Linked DNA regions of Homo sapiens: all the other regions are linked to region 1. The links are contacts of gene promoters, found by promoter capture Hi-C in blood cells and fetal thymus (Javierre and others, 2016). All regions are on one chromosome and are shown on one strand. Each heading gives the region's core, a stretch centred on a gene start or on the middle of the fragment in contact. The rest is flanking DNA. Distances are from core to core; before and after follow the strand shown.

Evidence for each region. Contacts are between HindIII fragments. The CHiCAGO score rates a contact against its expected background, and 5 or more counts as called.
Region 2: a fragment that was not itself captured here is called in contact with the fragment with the promoter of ITFG1 in region 1 in 1 of 17 cell types (neutrophils); the score reaches 8.1 in neutrophils.
Region 3: the fragment with the promoter of SIAH1 here is called in contact with the fragment with the promoter of ITFG1 in region 1 in 2 of 17 cell types (neutrophils and monocytes); the score reaches 5.3 in neutrophils.
Region 4: a fragment that was not itself captured here is called in contact with the fragment with the promoter of ITFG1 in region 1 in 1 of 17 cell types (endothelial precursors); the score reaches 6.0 in endothelial precursors.
Region 5: a fragment that was not itself captured here is called in contact with the fragment with the promoter of ITFG1 in region 1 in 1 of 17 cell types (neutrophils); the score reaches 6.0 in neutrophils.

What each region holds. Positions count from the first base shown.
Region 1 is chr16:47,459,561-47,462,325 of GRCh38, forward strand. ITFG1 (integrin alpha FG-GAP repeat containing 1) reads right to left here and starts at 1,503. Exons shown (of 18, transcript NM_030790.5): 1 at 1,278-1,503. The coding sequence starts at 1,485. It overlaps PHKB (phosphorylase kinase regulatory subunit beta), which reads left to right and starts at 1,771. Exons shown (of 31, transcript NM_000293.3): 1 at 1,771-1,866. The coding sequence starts at 1,791. RefSeq lists a silencer at 1,412-1,881. The HindIII fragment of the contact is 8,409 bases long and covers 1-2,765 here.
Region 2 is chr16:48,177,834-48,180,533 of GRCh38, forward strand. It overlaps ABCC11 (ATP binding cassette subfamily C member 11), which reads right to left. Exons shown (of 30, transcript NM_001370497.1): 24 at 764-853. Among named protein-coding and RNA genes, the nearest start is that of ABCC12, 23 kb to the left of the region's middle. The HindIII fragment of the contact is 1,905 bases long and covers 381-2,285 here.
Region 3 is chr16:48,384,057-48,386,756 of GRCh38, forward strand. It overlaps SIAH1 (siah E3 ubiquitin protein ligase 1), which reads right to left and starts at 1,357. Exons shown (of 2, transcript NM_003031.4): 1 at 1,148-1,357. RefSeq lists silencers at 436-705, 796-865, 966-1,785. The HindIII fragment of the contact is 2,947 bases long and covers 1-1,943 here.
Region 4 is chr16:48,049,677-48,052,376 of GRCh38, forward strand. No RefSeq gene overlaps it. Among named protein-coding and RNA genes, the nearest start is that of LINC02134, 85 kb to the left of the region's middle. The HindIII fragment of the contact is 3,168 bases long and covers 1-2,700 here.
Region 5 is chr16:46,694,636-46,697,336 of GRCh38, forward strand. It overlaps ORC6 (origin recognition complex subunit 6), which reads left to right. Exons shown (of 7, transcript NM_014321.4): 5 at 927-1,039; 6 at 1,382-1,450. Among named protein-coding and RNA genes, the nearest start is that of ORC6, 6.3 kb to the left of the region's middle. The HindIII fragment of the contact is 5,773 bases long and covers 1-2,701 here.

The sequences.
Region 1 (2,765 bases), core at 253-2,752:
TCATTACACAGATGCATCACACCAAGGATGCAGGGACTCCCATTGTAGATATCTGACAAAGACATAATTAAGCATGTGAGCACAAAATGCTGAATCCTCCAAGACCCTCCTCCTATGGGGCCATCCTCCAGAGGGTGACACATTCTTGGAGCTCAATTAGCACTCATTGAGACAGACTTTTGGAATTGTTTAATCAAACACAGGCCATCTTTAAAGTCAAGGCTACTCTCTGTATCCAGTTTGGACACAGCAGCAACAGGTTTGGCAGTACACTGCAAAATGAGGAGTCAAAAAGATTGGGAAAATATTCAGGGTTTGTAAGAGGTTCCTGCATCCCCGCAAGGGCTCCAAGAAGTCTGGTTCAGGATCCTGTCAGGCAAGCTCTGAGTAGCTCTTCCTTCCTTCCTTCACAGCATTGATCTTTAAGCAGCACCTGCTTCTGTAGGTACTCAAGAACCCTAAGACCCCCTAATGCCCACTGTCAGCATCAAGATTTACAAAAAAGTTAGTTTAACGATTGTCAAAGCAAAGAATTTCCAAGAACAAGTTAGCAAAGAAAGTAGACATTTGGAACACTAAGGTGATGACCAAGATGAGGAAGGAGTACACGAAAGAACAGGCAGCTCAAGAGAGAAATTTCTGTAGTTTGAGACTGCTTTCCCAAGGAGGCATTGGGTTTATCAGTGGTCCCTGCAAAATGCTTGTGTGAGCTGTTTAGTGTTTAGGCCCTTGGAAGGGTACATTCGCTTCATAGAAAGTTGTGGCCTTGACAAAGAAAGGGGTGGGCGAATTAGGTAGGTGGGGAGGCAAGAAGAAGCCCCCTATGAGAAGAGATTGTCAGGTTGCACCTTTTCATGTTCATCAACGGGGAAGGAAGACTGAAGCAAAATAGAAAGGAATGAGTGGGCCTTGGGAGCGAACGTTGAGGCAAGCTACAAAGATTCCTAGGAATCAGGAAGCACTTTGGAAAACAGGTGATTCCATGGGGAGGAGGGGGTAAGGTGACTGGGTGAGGGCCGCAGACTTCTTAGGAACAAAACTGAGGTGCTGTCAGGGCTTTTGAGGGTAGGTCAAACTGTAGGGTAGCTGGGTCAGAACCTGGGGTTGGAAAGGGTGGTGCAAAAGGACAAGCTGTTAAGAATGCTAAAGGGAAGGCCACAGGGCTGGGAGAGAAGGACCAGGAAATGCAGAAGGACCGGCCATTGGGCAATGGGTTTGGGGAACACCGGGAGAGGCACACGGACAGCGAACAGAGGGAGGGCCCGGCAAGCACTGACTTTCCCGCAGCACGAAGAGATCCGTCTGCTTGTCGGAGTTGAGGTCCCCGAAAGCCGCAAGGGTGCCCCAGGCCTCGGCCCCAAAGAGCTCGGCCGTGACGTTGTGCAGCGCCCGCGCTGGGACCGGCCCGACTCCCAGTAGTGCAAGCCCTGCGAGGAGCGGCGAGAAGAGGGCCCAGGAGCTCGGGAGCCGGCCCGCCGCCGCCATGGCAGCCCCTCAGCCCCCGCCCGCCGGCCCAACGCCGCGCTTGACGACAGCCGCAAAGCACCGCGTTACCGGCCGAGAGAGTGGCGCGCAGCCCCGGGACGCGTAAGAGCCGCTGCCGGCTCCTTTTTCTCTCTCCCACTAGGGCTGCCCTTCCGACGCTAAAAAAGCAGTGGAGCTAGGGTGAAAGCCGCCCTCACGCTCACTTCCGGCAGGCGCGCCTCCCGACAGTGTCGTGCGGGGGGCGTGGCCCGGCATTGCTGACAGGCGGCCCCGGGGGCGGTGGCCAAGGCGGCGACCGGAGCGCGATGGCGGGGGCGGCGGGACTCACGGCAGAAGTGAGCTGGAAGGTCTTGGAGCGAAGAGCTCGGACCAAGCGCTCAGGTTTGGCTGGCTGGGGCGCCGCCCCCCACCCGAGTACCTTGGGTGGTGCTTCGCCTCAAGCGCCTTGGCGGGAGGCAGGTGGGGGCCCTGGGAATGAACCTGTGCCCCGAGTTCCTCCTTAGAAAGCAGGTGGCGGCCCTGGCCTTGTTTCTAATATCTTCCTCCACCTCTAAAAATTAGGTGGCAGAGCCAGCTCCACTCTGCGTGTGCCCCCGACTCTATTCCGCTTGTGAGCCCCACTCGGAAAGTAGGCAGCGGTCCGGACTTCCCTTAGAGTCTTCTAACTTAAAAATCGGGCGGCGGCACATTCCTGGGAAAGGGAATGTGTCTTCCCTGTGAATGTGTCTTTCCTGTGAATGTTCTCTGCAAAAGTCAGATAGCTTAATCAGACCAAGTCAGATGTAACTACGATCTGGCTGCAGAAAGCCGGCGTCTGGGCTCCTTGCTTTATGTCTTATATCCCTTTTACATTCCCCACAGGTTCTAAGCAGTAGACCTGTCATCTATCTAGCAGAAACTGAAGGAGACTGGGCCTCAGATATTGAAGAGTATAGTTAGGGCCCAGAAAGAAAAGGGCTTCTTAAGTGGCCCCAGGTTGTGTGGTTTCCAAACCCGAAAGCATAGAGGTCAGAAGGTGCCTTGCAGGCAGTTTTAACAGTTCCAAGTGTCCCGAACTGACTTGTTCAAATTGCAACGTCATGACTTGTGGCGTTATTAAAACTTCCTGTATTCCTGGTTGGCTGGATATAATCTTGAACAAAAGGCATGCACTTAAACAGGAAAGGTGAAAGGCGGAATGCAGGTTTTCAGCTAAGGAGCTTCCCTTTTAAAGAATTGATGAAGTGTCATTATTGGGGGTGGGTGTGAAAGGTGTTAGCTAGGAAAATTAACTTTGCACT
Region 2 (2,700 bases), core at 83-2,582, 720 kb after region 1:
CTGGTTTGTAGAGGGCTCTGCCAGCCCCAGCCTGTGTGATCTTAAGCAAAAGTTCTGCCTGGCCCAACCTCGGTTTCCTTGTCTGAAAAATGTGGATAATCATTCAATCAACCTAATAAAATTGTTCCATGATCCCATGAGATAGTCTAGATAAAGGGCTTAGCACCATGCCTGGCCCACAGAAAGGTCTCAATCACAATAATAAAGAACATGATGGAGCCTCACTATGGGTCAGGCAGTGTGCTATGTGCTTTACATGTTATATCATTTCAACTTTGTGATAATCTGGCAAAGGGACGCTATTGTCTTTCTCATTTCAGAGATGGGGAAAAGAGAGTTTGAATAAGTTGCCCAGGTTATTCCAATGATTCAAATGGTAAAGCTTAGACTTGAACCCAGGAAATCTGGCTACAGAATCTGTGCTCTTAACCACCATGACATAAATGGAAGCAATAATAGGAACAAAGATTGTTGTCATCATTATTATTGCACTGGGCAAACCTCTCATTTCCAAGAGGAGAAGATGATCTCCTCTTCCCCCTAGGAATGCTGTGAGGGATGTGGTCAAAGTGAGCAGACAGGTATGGAAGAGCTTCAGCGAGATGGTCAACAAAAGTCTGGGGAAGACAGGGAGGAAAGGCCAGGAGCCTGGTGTTTCCTGGGATGGTCTCAGGGCTCTGAGGCCAGTGGGGCTTGTAGAGGTCACAGAAGTCATGCCCCAACTTGCATGGCTCCCCACACCAGACCCAGACCTGAACCCCACCTTCATGTACTGCAGTATCCTCTCTACAGCCGTGAACTGTGCCTCTGTCTCCAAGCCAATCCGGGCAGTGGCCTGGAAGCTGGACGCCAGCTAGAAGGAAGGAGAAGTATCGGGGGTCAAGAGGCTGCTGGGGTGTGCTCAGGCTCTTCAACGCTCCTGATAACCACTGATTGCCATTGCCCCTGAGTGACCCCTGAAACTAAGATAATTTTCCTAGCAAGAATGGAGCAGAGGCCCCTGGTGCCTCCTCAGCCCACTTCTGAGTTTAGCTGCAGCTGCGATGGGCAATTCTGGGGGAGAACCTCCCCAGACACTGTTCCACCTCGAGTGCCCTCTGTATGTCTTTCTGCTCAAGACCTCTGCCCACATCACAGCAACCACCTAGCCTGTGCATGAGGACATCCCAGAAACCCAGGAGACTTAAGGTTACTGAGAATGAACTTTGACTGATGGGGAACAAGAGCTAGCAGAGATAAATGCTCCCATCTCCCAGCCTTTGAGGGCATGGTCCTGGAAATACCCCATATGCTTCTCAGGAGATCCCAGGACAGTTGAGCCCTAGTGACATAGAACAGGGACCCCAGTGTCACACTCCCATGATGACTTCCTCCTTCCTCATCTCACTTTTCTGCTCCCTCAATCCTGGTTCCTGGGAGCACTTCCCAAATAAGCTGCCTGCACCCAAGTTCCTTTCTCAGGTCCTGCCTTCAGGGAAACCCAGGCTAGAGGAGTTAGGGACTCTTGGGAATTGGGGGCACCAAAGATAAGGAAACTGAGGCGCCAAAAGAAGAAATTACATCCACAGAAACGTCTAGAAGCTGGAGGCAGAGCTGGGCTTGGGGCCCCGGTCTATAACCTCCATTACCCTGGCCCAAGAAATGGGCAAACAGGACGTGCAGGGGGTGCTGGGTAACACATTAATCATACATTCATTCAACAAACTCTGGTGGATGGCTCTGTGCCAGGTGCTGGACCAGGCTCCATGTCCCAAAGTGCAGCAGATGTAGGCCTGCCCTCGAGGAGATCCCAGCTGGATGGAAAGGCAGACAAGGCAACAAAGAATAAAGTGCAGAGGGGCGCACTCCACAATGGAGAAGCCCTGGAGTGCCACTGGGATGCACAGGAGGGGCCCTGGATGAGGGCACAGGGAAGGATTCCAAGAAGAGTCAGTCCTAGAGTGACATTTTTAAGGTGAAGTAAGATGCAGTGGACTAAAGATGGGTGGAGAAGTGTGTTCCAAACAGAACAGCCTATGTAAGCCCTGAAAGCAGCAAATTCTCAGAATACATCCAGGCACCCACAAGCCATTTGGCTATGGCTGAAACAAAAGGGTGTAGGAAGGAGGGGAAGCCCTCTGTAAGTCAGAGAAGGTGGGCACCATGATGAAATGGTGCTTAGTCTGAAAAAGAGGCCAGGGGCGGGTTGGAAGACCACTTTTCCTCCCATCCCTCAGTGTATCACACCCTGCGGGCTGCCTTGCCAGCATCATGTTCAGGTGTCTGGTGGTCTTATGCTTCAGGGAAGCTTGGTTAATCCAAACCAACCACATTAATTCTACTCCTCTTGCCAGAGCTTGGTTTAGGTGTGGGCTCATGATGCCATTCTGGCCGTTGAAGGATGAGAAGGCATCAGATGGGTGTATTCTTGAAAACTTCTCTTTGCTTTTAAAAAGGAACACATGGAAAAAGTTATCTCCTCTCCAGCCTTTGACTGTTATTGTGGGAGGATGTGACACTTGGGGCTGCAGCAGCCATTTTGTGACCATGAATACAGACAGACTTGCAGACAAAGCCAGGCTGTGGATGCCAGCACAGAAAGGTAGAACGATCAAGGGTTCATGCTAGGCCACTAAATGAGCCAACTGAGCATAGGCCTACCCCAGCCTTCTGGTTACATGAGAGAATAAGTTCCCAGATGGTCGAGGCCATTTTGAGTTG
Region 3 (2,700 bases), core at 107-2,606, 920 kb after region 1:
CCCAAGGTCACAAACCAGTGGAGCAGGATTTGACCCAAAGCAGACAGTCGGACTTCACAGCCCGTGCTCTCAACATCCAACTGCTGAAGAGTTAACAATTTACCCTTGACAGCCGCTATAAGCAAAGGTAAATGCTCAACTGCTAGGAAGGGACAGTCAGAACACCGTCCCATATCCAGTATCCATGTCTCTCTGTTTGTTTATGGCCTCTATGACTTTGGCAAAAGAAGTACACACAATCTGATTTTCCGAACACCCAAGCTGGACTTTTCTGAATGTCCGAGCAAACAAATTATGTATCTTTCCAGGAACGGGCAGACAGCGAAAACGAACCTACGCATCGGAGTGGCCCAGGTTATTCACTTTAAGTTATAAATTTGGGAGAGTTAAGAAAGGACCCCAAACTACCCGGCAAATGAACCCTAGGAAATGCCAGGTTTATAATAAGCTAGAGCTTCCCCGGCACGCCGTTCACGCGCTCTCCTCTCTAACGACATAAACAAGGGAGGAGGCTGCATTCTTCCCACTGCACAATGAAGCCTCCGGCCGAAGCGGCAGGAAGAGCGCAGCCCCGTCCCGGACGGCTCCAGCCGGGGGTCGGGGGCAGAGAGCGGAGGCCGAGGCCCGCCGAGCGGCGCGGTGCGGCCCGGGCCTCCGGGCGCCGCGGGGAGGAGGGGGAGGGAGGGCAGGGCCCCGGCAGCTGCCCGCACTCAGCTGACCTCCGCCATGTTGGCCGCACACCCCGGGACCCTCCACAACAAAGGCCGGCACGAGGGCGCGGGGCGCGCCGGGCGCCACCCCCGGCCGGGCCCGCCTCCCGGGCGCGCGGGGGCCGGGCCGCCGCCGAGGCCCTTCCCCCGCCCTCGGCCCGGCCGCGCGGGGCCGACCCCCGCCGCCACCCCGCCGGGCCCGGGGCTCCAGGGGCGGGGGCGAGCCGGCTTGCGAAGGCTGAAGGCAGGGGAGGGGCGGGGGGCGGCGCTCGACCGGGCGGCCCGACTCCGGCCGAGACAAAGGCGCCGCCGCGCCGACTACTGCCCGCGCCCCGGCCGGGCCGCCCTTCCCGCCCTCCGCCATTACCGGGCCTGGGCGCCCGCCTGTCGGAGAGCCCCTCGCCGCCGGCTCCTCCCTCAGGCCGGGCCCCACTTACCTGTGGGCGGAGAGCGCGCCTCGGACCCCGGTCCTGGCACCAACGCGCTCCGTCGCCAACCCCCGCCACCGCGGGCAGCGCCACCGCCTCTTCCCGGCGCCGAGACCGACGGGACACCCTGGGCCGCCGCCGCCTCTCGAGAGCGCGCCCCGCAACGGCCGCCCCGGCTCCCCCCTGGCCGCCGCCGCCGCCGCCGTTTCGCGCGTCCTCGAGCCCGCCGCGCGCCCCCGCTAAATACCACACACTGCGGCGGCGGCCATGAGGAGGCGCGGCCCCGCGCGCTGGGAGCCTGGGGGGGCGGGGCTTTCGCGGGCGCGCAGGCGCACAGGCGTTGGCGCGGCCGGCGGCGGCCTCCGCGGGCGTAGCTGTGCGGGTCTCCAAAGGCGGCAGTAGGTGCGGGGGCTACTCGGCTACCGTTGCTGCGCCCGTGCACCGCGCATTCAACGGATCCTGGCACGTGGCGCTCTGGCCCGCGAGAAGCTAGCGCTTGCCCGTCGGCTCAGGGCAGCTCCTCCCGCGGCGCTTTGTTCCGGGGCCGCGTGACCCCCCCGGCTCCGGCCGGAGGGGTCGCCCAGCGGGATGCGAGCCCCAGGCTGGCCGCCGCCGCGGCCTTGTGCCCTCCCCCTTGTTTTGTCTGCTGATTTAGCCCAGCGCCTCCACGGATCCTTCCCAACTCCACTCAGTCCCAAAGAAAAAGCGGCTGCCCTGCCCGCCGACCGGGACCCCACCCCTAAAGAGAGTCCCAGCCTCTCCCGAGGTTGAGCCGCTCCTCAGCAACAGCGGGACGAGCTTCAAAAGCTTGTTTCAGCTGAAAAGTGGGTAATGGGGAAGCACGCGTTTTCCTGTGTCCATGCTCATCTGGAAAGTCCCTAATTAGGGACTCTGCATTCCACTTCTTGAAATAATAAAAGGAAAACATCACTTGCAATTCTTTGATGGGTGCTATGAGCAGAAGCAAGCATCTGAGACATTTACAAGCCCTAACTGGAATTCCATGTAAGATCTATTAAAATGGTATTCCGTCCGGACGCGGTGGCTCACGCCTGTAATCCCAGCACTTAGGGAGGCCGAGGCCGATGGATTACCTGAGGTCAGGAGTTCGAGAGTAGCCTGGCCAACATGGTGAAACCCTATCTCTACTAAAAATACAAAAATTAGCCGGGCGTGGTGGTGCACGCCTGTAGTCCCAGCTACTCGGAGGCTGAGGCAGGAGAATCGCTTGAACCCGGGAGGCAGAGGTTGCAGTGAGGCAGAGATCAGGCCATTGCACTCCAGCCTGGACAACAGAGCGAGACTCTGTCTCAAAAAAATAAAAATAAAAATAGAAAAATCCCATACCGGGCACGTATGTACAAATTCCCAGTGTATGATAAAGTTTATATGTGCAAAACACTAGTTTACAGTATTCCTAATTACATGATTTAAACTGCAATTTTACTTTCACATTTTTGGGGAGAAGTTATAGCTCCTCAGTACACGGGAAGGTCAATAGAGTTCGGTTCACTTCAGTTTAGAGGTAAATTTTCCATTTTTACAGACTATGTGCTTGGCAT
Region 4 (2,700 bases), core at 182-2,681, 590 kb after region 1:
CACTTCCAAGGGACTCTTTCCTGCTGCTGACTCAAACTTTCCCTCTGTAGGTGGAGGGTGGCTGTCTCCCTGATGTTGCTTCTCTCCACCTTTTACTCTTTTTATTAGAGTAGGTAGTTAGGAAGACATAAGCAGGGCAGAAGGGAGCCCCTCCACCAGGAATGTCAGCTGACCATCAGGTGATGGTCGGGTAGTTATTAAATGGTCTCTCTAAAATAATCATTAGTCACAGCCAGCATCAGGGAAAGGCAGTCTCCCAATAGATAGAAAACACCTGAAACTGATGATCAGCAACTTCCTGATAAGATCTTAGGAGTTGGGCGAGTGGACTCAAGCATGCGCATTAACAGGCAGATGGTGGAGATTACCCAGTATATGACCTTCCTCTAGGAACACTCATCTGGTAAGGGAAGGATGCCTCAAGTGAGCATGTACACTTCAGTAAACATACTGTGCATGTGGCCCCTCCCAAGTGCTGGCAGGCCACTGTGCATGTGGACAGCCCACTCCAAGGGAAGAATCAGAGGACAAGAGCTGCAAGACCCCCAAAGCATGCCAGTGTATGAAACCCCAAGTCAAAGGTCAAACCGCACACTTGATCTCTCAAGTCACCCGCTTGGCCCTCTTCCAAGTGTACTTTACTTCCTTTAATTCCTGCTCTAAATCTTTTTAAATAAACTTTCATGTCTGCTCTAAAACTTGCCTCAGTCCCTCACTCTGCCTTATGCCCCTCAGACAAATTCTTTCCTCTGAGGAGACAAGAACCGAGTTGCTGCAGACCTGTATTCACTACTGCTAATACTCTTACAGCAGAAGAAACGGAACATGGTTGCTCATTGTGGAAGTTGGTGGTAAGTGAAAGAGTCTAGTAGAAACCAAAAAGTTTTTATTTTACTTTATTCATTCGCTCCTTCTTAAGAAGGCTGCTTGCAAAACAGAGATGAGAAAGCACAATGGGTAGGGCCACAGCAAGAGAAGAAGCAAACCCTTCCCTCTGTTACTGGTGGAGGGTGTCCAGGTTCTTGGCATACTGAATTGGACAAAACGTACAAACAAAGCAAAGAAGGAATGAAGGGATTTATTGACAATGAAAGTACACTCCACAGTGTGGGAGCGGGTCTGAGCATAGGGGCTCAAAGGCTCTGTTACAGAATGTTTGAGAGTTTAGATACCCTCGACTTGGGGTATGCCCTATGTAAATGAAGAGGATGAAGTAAAGTTACAAAGTCATTCACTTACTGTATGCTCTATGGAGAGGATATTTCCTGTTATAGCTGAAGTGTGGGGTTGGGGGGATAGAAGCTGTCCTCCTGCATGCTGAATTGCTTCTGGGTGGGGTCACAGGAGTGGGATCGGTGGGTCGGCTTGGAGCCATAGGTGTCAGACATTCAAAAAATCTGACAAGCTATCTCAAAAGGCCAATCTACAATAGTGGTGTTATCTGCAGGAATGGCTGGCAATCTATGTCTGCACCTTAGCAGAATCAGGCTCCTTTCCACCCCCATAGCCCCATGGCCTTTCATTAGCTTTATAGAGGGAGTCAAGTTTGGGGGAAGGGCTATTATCATTTAAACTATAACCTAAATGTCTTCCAAAGTTAGCTAGCCCAAAAGCCCAGCAATAATTAAGGGAAAGGCAAGATGGAGGGTGAGTTAGATCATATCTCTTTTACTGCCATAATTTTCTTACTGTTATAATTCTTGCAAAGGTGGTTTCCATCTGAGTGGGCCAGAATGCTGCAGGTCAAGATGCTCGCTTATGGGTTCCTCTGTTTTCAGTCTTTTCTTTTTAGAATGGAATCTGCATCCTTGCTCATGTCACTGCTGAATCTCCAGGGCCGAGGGATGTCCCTGACATGGGGGGCTTGGTAACTGGTGGAAAGGAAGGACAGAGGGGCCGAGGAGTGCAATGTGGCAGCATTTCTTGTTCCTTCCTTTCAGCATCAGGAATAAAATGTGGAACACAAGGGACCTTAGTGATGCACTCCAAGGGCCTCATTTCATGATGAAGATGGCCACCCCACTCACCATAGATAGTTAGTTGGAGATAGAGATGGCGTTCACACTTGAGACACCCAGGTGATTCTATCCAGACCACAAAAGTAAAAGTTCCCTCAATTACTCATTTTTTCAGGCAACTTTGGAAATATAGGGTCCTGTTTGAGTGCCAGACTTTAAGGGGGACTTATTCAAATATCCATTCAAAATTATTCAGTTAAATATGTTTTTGAATGAAATAATATTAAAGAATTATTTTTGACAACATGGATGAGCTGAAGGACAATGACAAAGGGGTCTGGAAGCCATGTCATTCCAAGAACTGGCTGAAACACCTGAAGTCAGGAGAACGGAGAGAATGGGCCACTGTGCAGGGGTCCTCACACATGTATCTCTCCTCCCCATGGACACATAACACACAGTGAGCACCCCACACACATTTGTTGAGTGTGTTAATTGCTTTGCTTGGAGAAGAGAGGGCTGACAATACACACTGCTTCAGAAAGCTCTGTGACAGCTGATGAGAAGGAAAGTTTTGGAGAGTTGGCTGTCTTTCAGGGGAAGTGAAAGGGATCGGTCAGAGCTGAAGGACAAGAGCACTTCTCATTCTTGATTATGCTCTTGAATTATTTGGAGATCTGGTTGAAAGGCAGATTCTGATTCAATAGGTCTGCAGTGAAGCTGAGATTCTGCATTACCAATG
Region 5 (2,701 bases), core at 10-2,509, 770 kb before region 1:
GGGCTGACCCCCCCACAACACTGTCTCTTAAAAAAAAAACAAAACACTGGCTACAACTGTTCTTCAAGGAATTTATAACATTTTAGTGATAAATTATCACATCTGAATCTTACAATTGTGGGTTATCTATGTGTATGCTGAAATGTTACCTTGGAAATATTAGTAATTGTTGATAATCTTTGTCTAAAGTTATCTTATTTTTATCTTGCCAGAAAACTCCTTAGAAAACAAAATGTAGTTGGCCCTTAAAGAATGGATTTCTCACTACCTACCCACTAATTTTGGTATGCTTGGCTCTATTAGGTACATACCTAGGAGTATTAATTGGCATTTATGGAAAACATCTCTTCAATTCAACAAAAGTATGTGCATATACGGAGGGAGTGCAGCTGATATTGTAGAAAACAGTGAGAATAGTCAACTCTACTTTTGAAACCATATTACGCTGAGTAAGAAAAGGTCTTGACAGGTCTATTCTGAAGAAAAAGTTTATTTTGTGTTTGTAATTAGTGGTTGCTGTGGAGTCTTATTAGGAAAGTTTATTTTCAGGGTGGGGTGGGGTTGTTACATTCCTGTAATATAAATATCCTGTGAGTTAAAATGAGTGGAACAAAAAAGTCCTATGATTGTCATTCATTAAATTAATCTGAGATTTACTAAAGAGTTCTAAAAGTCATGAAGCACTACAGCAAATGTCTTTTATGTGCCCCTTTTGTTATAAAATAGATCCCATGTGCATTTTAACTCTCAGTCCAATAAACAACTAAACAACTTAGCATAGATAATAACATGTTTGGAATGAAGGAAAAAAACTAGACAGAGGCTCTGGAAGCATGGTCAAAAAGAAAATAAGTTGATTATCTGGTTGCCCAGAGAAGAAAACTGTACAGGTCTTGAGAAAAGCAACTTATGAAATTGTTTTGTAGGATTCTAAAGCTGAAAGTGGATAAAAACAAAATGGTAGCCACATCCGGTGTAAAAAAAGCTATATTTGATCGACTGTGTAAACAACTAGAGAAGATTGGACAGCAGGTCGACAGTAAGTATTCTGTAGTTCAAGAATGCGTCATTTGAAAATGTAGTCCTTTTGCTTGTAAAAGTCAAATATTTTCAAATATGTAAACTGGCTGCTTCCTAAATTCCGTATTACATGTGGACCAGGTATGTTTTTATTGATGTTTCTAACCTATGATTCCATGAATCTATGCCTGGAAAATGATTCTCAAGTCTGACAAGAGGCCCAAAAGAGAGGTCTAAGATCATTTCTCTTCTCCTCATATTTGATCAGTTAAGATGTCTAATTTTATTTGTGATCCAAAACATGCCCAAATACTGAAATTGAGAACAGGAGAAAAATTAACCTTGATAACACTTCTTAAAGGAGAACCTGGAGATGTAGCTACTCCACCACGGAAGAGAAAGAAGATAGTGGTTGAAGCCCCAGCAAAGGGTAAGTTTTACTAACACGGTACTGACGTTGACATTTTATGCAGTGAACAGCCCAGTGCTGCTCTAGCAGCTTGCCTGACAGGAGTCCAGTTTTAAGTACATTCTGACTGTGAATCATTTGATAAGACCAGTTTTCCAAGCAATCAGTAATGGAAGTAACATCGTTATTGGGTAATTAAGAATATGGCTGGTCTGGCACAGTGGCTTATTCCTGTAATCCCAGCACTTTGGGAGGCTGAGGCGGGAGGATTGCTTGAGCCCATGAGTGCGAGACCAGCCTGGGCAGCTACAGCTAGGTATTTGTCTTAAACCTGGGCATGGTCTGATGGGAAGTCCCTAGTTGTATAACAAGTCAGCTGGTTGGCTGTTTGTGATTGGCTGGGGATTATTTTTGTCTTTCGGAGGTTCTTTTCCCCCGACAAAAGAAATGTTTCCAAGTTAGGTTCCAGTTTGCTTATAAGAGCTTTAGCTACAAAGACAATCTCAGGCAAATGGCTGCATTATTGTTTTAATACCACCTACTGGCTATGTGATTTTTTGGTTTTTTTGTTTGTTTGTTTGATTTTGGTTTTTTGGTTTCTCTTTTTCTGAGACATGGCCTGGTTCTCTCACCCATGCTAGAGTGCAGTGGCACGGTCTCGGCTCACTGCAGCCTCCGCCTCCTGAGCTCAAACCATCCTCCCACCTCAGCCTCCCGAGTAGCTGGGACTACAGGCATGTGCTACCACACCTGGCTAATTTTTGTATTTTTGATAGAGATGGGACCTCACTATGTTACCCAGGCTGGTCTTGAACTCCTGGGCTCAAGTGACCCGCCCCCTTCACCTCCCAAAGTGCTGGGATTACAGGCATGAGCCACTATGCCCAACCACTGGCTATGGGATTCTAAGAAAGTATAATTTCTGTGAGCCTCAATTTCCTGACCTATAAAATGTGATTAATATTATCACCTATTACGGAGTGTAGTAGGGGTTAAATGAAATAATGCTATTTAAAGTACTTGGTTCAGTGCCTATCAAGCACCAGTTAAGTGCTTGATAGACGTTAGCTATTATTAGATGTCTTGGAATGCTTGGAGTGTAAGGGAGGGAAAAAAGTGATAGCTAAGCTAGGTGTGATAGTGTGAGCCTATAGTCCCAGCCACGGTCCCAGCTACTCAAGAGGTGGAGGTGGGAGGATCATTTGAACCTAGGAATTTGAGTGCAGCCTGAGCAACATTACAAGACCCCATCTCAAAAAAAAGTGATAACTG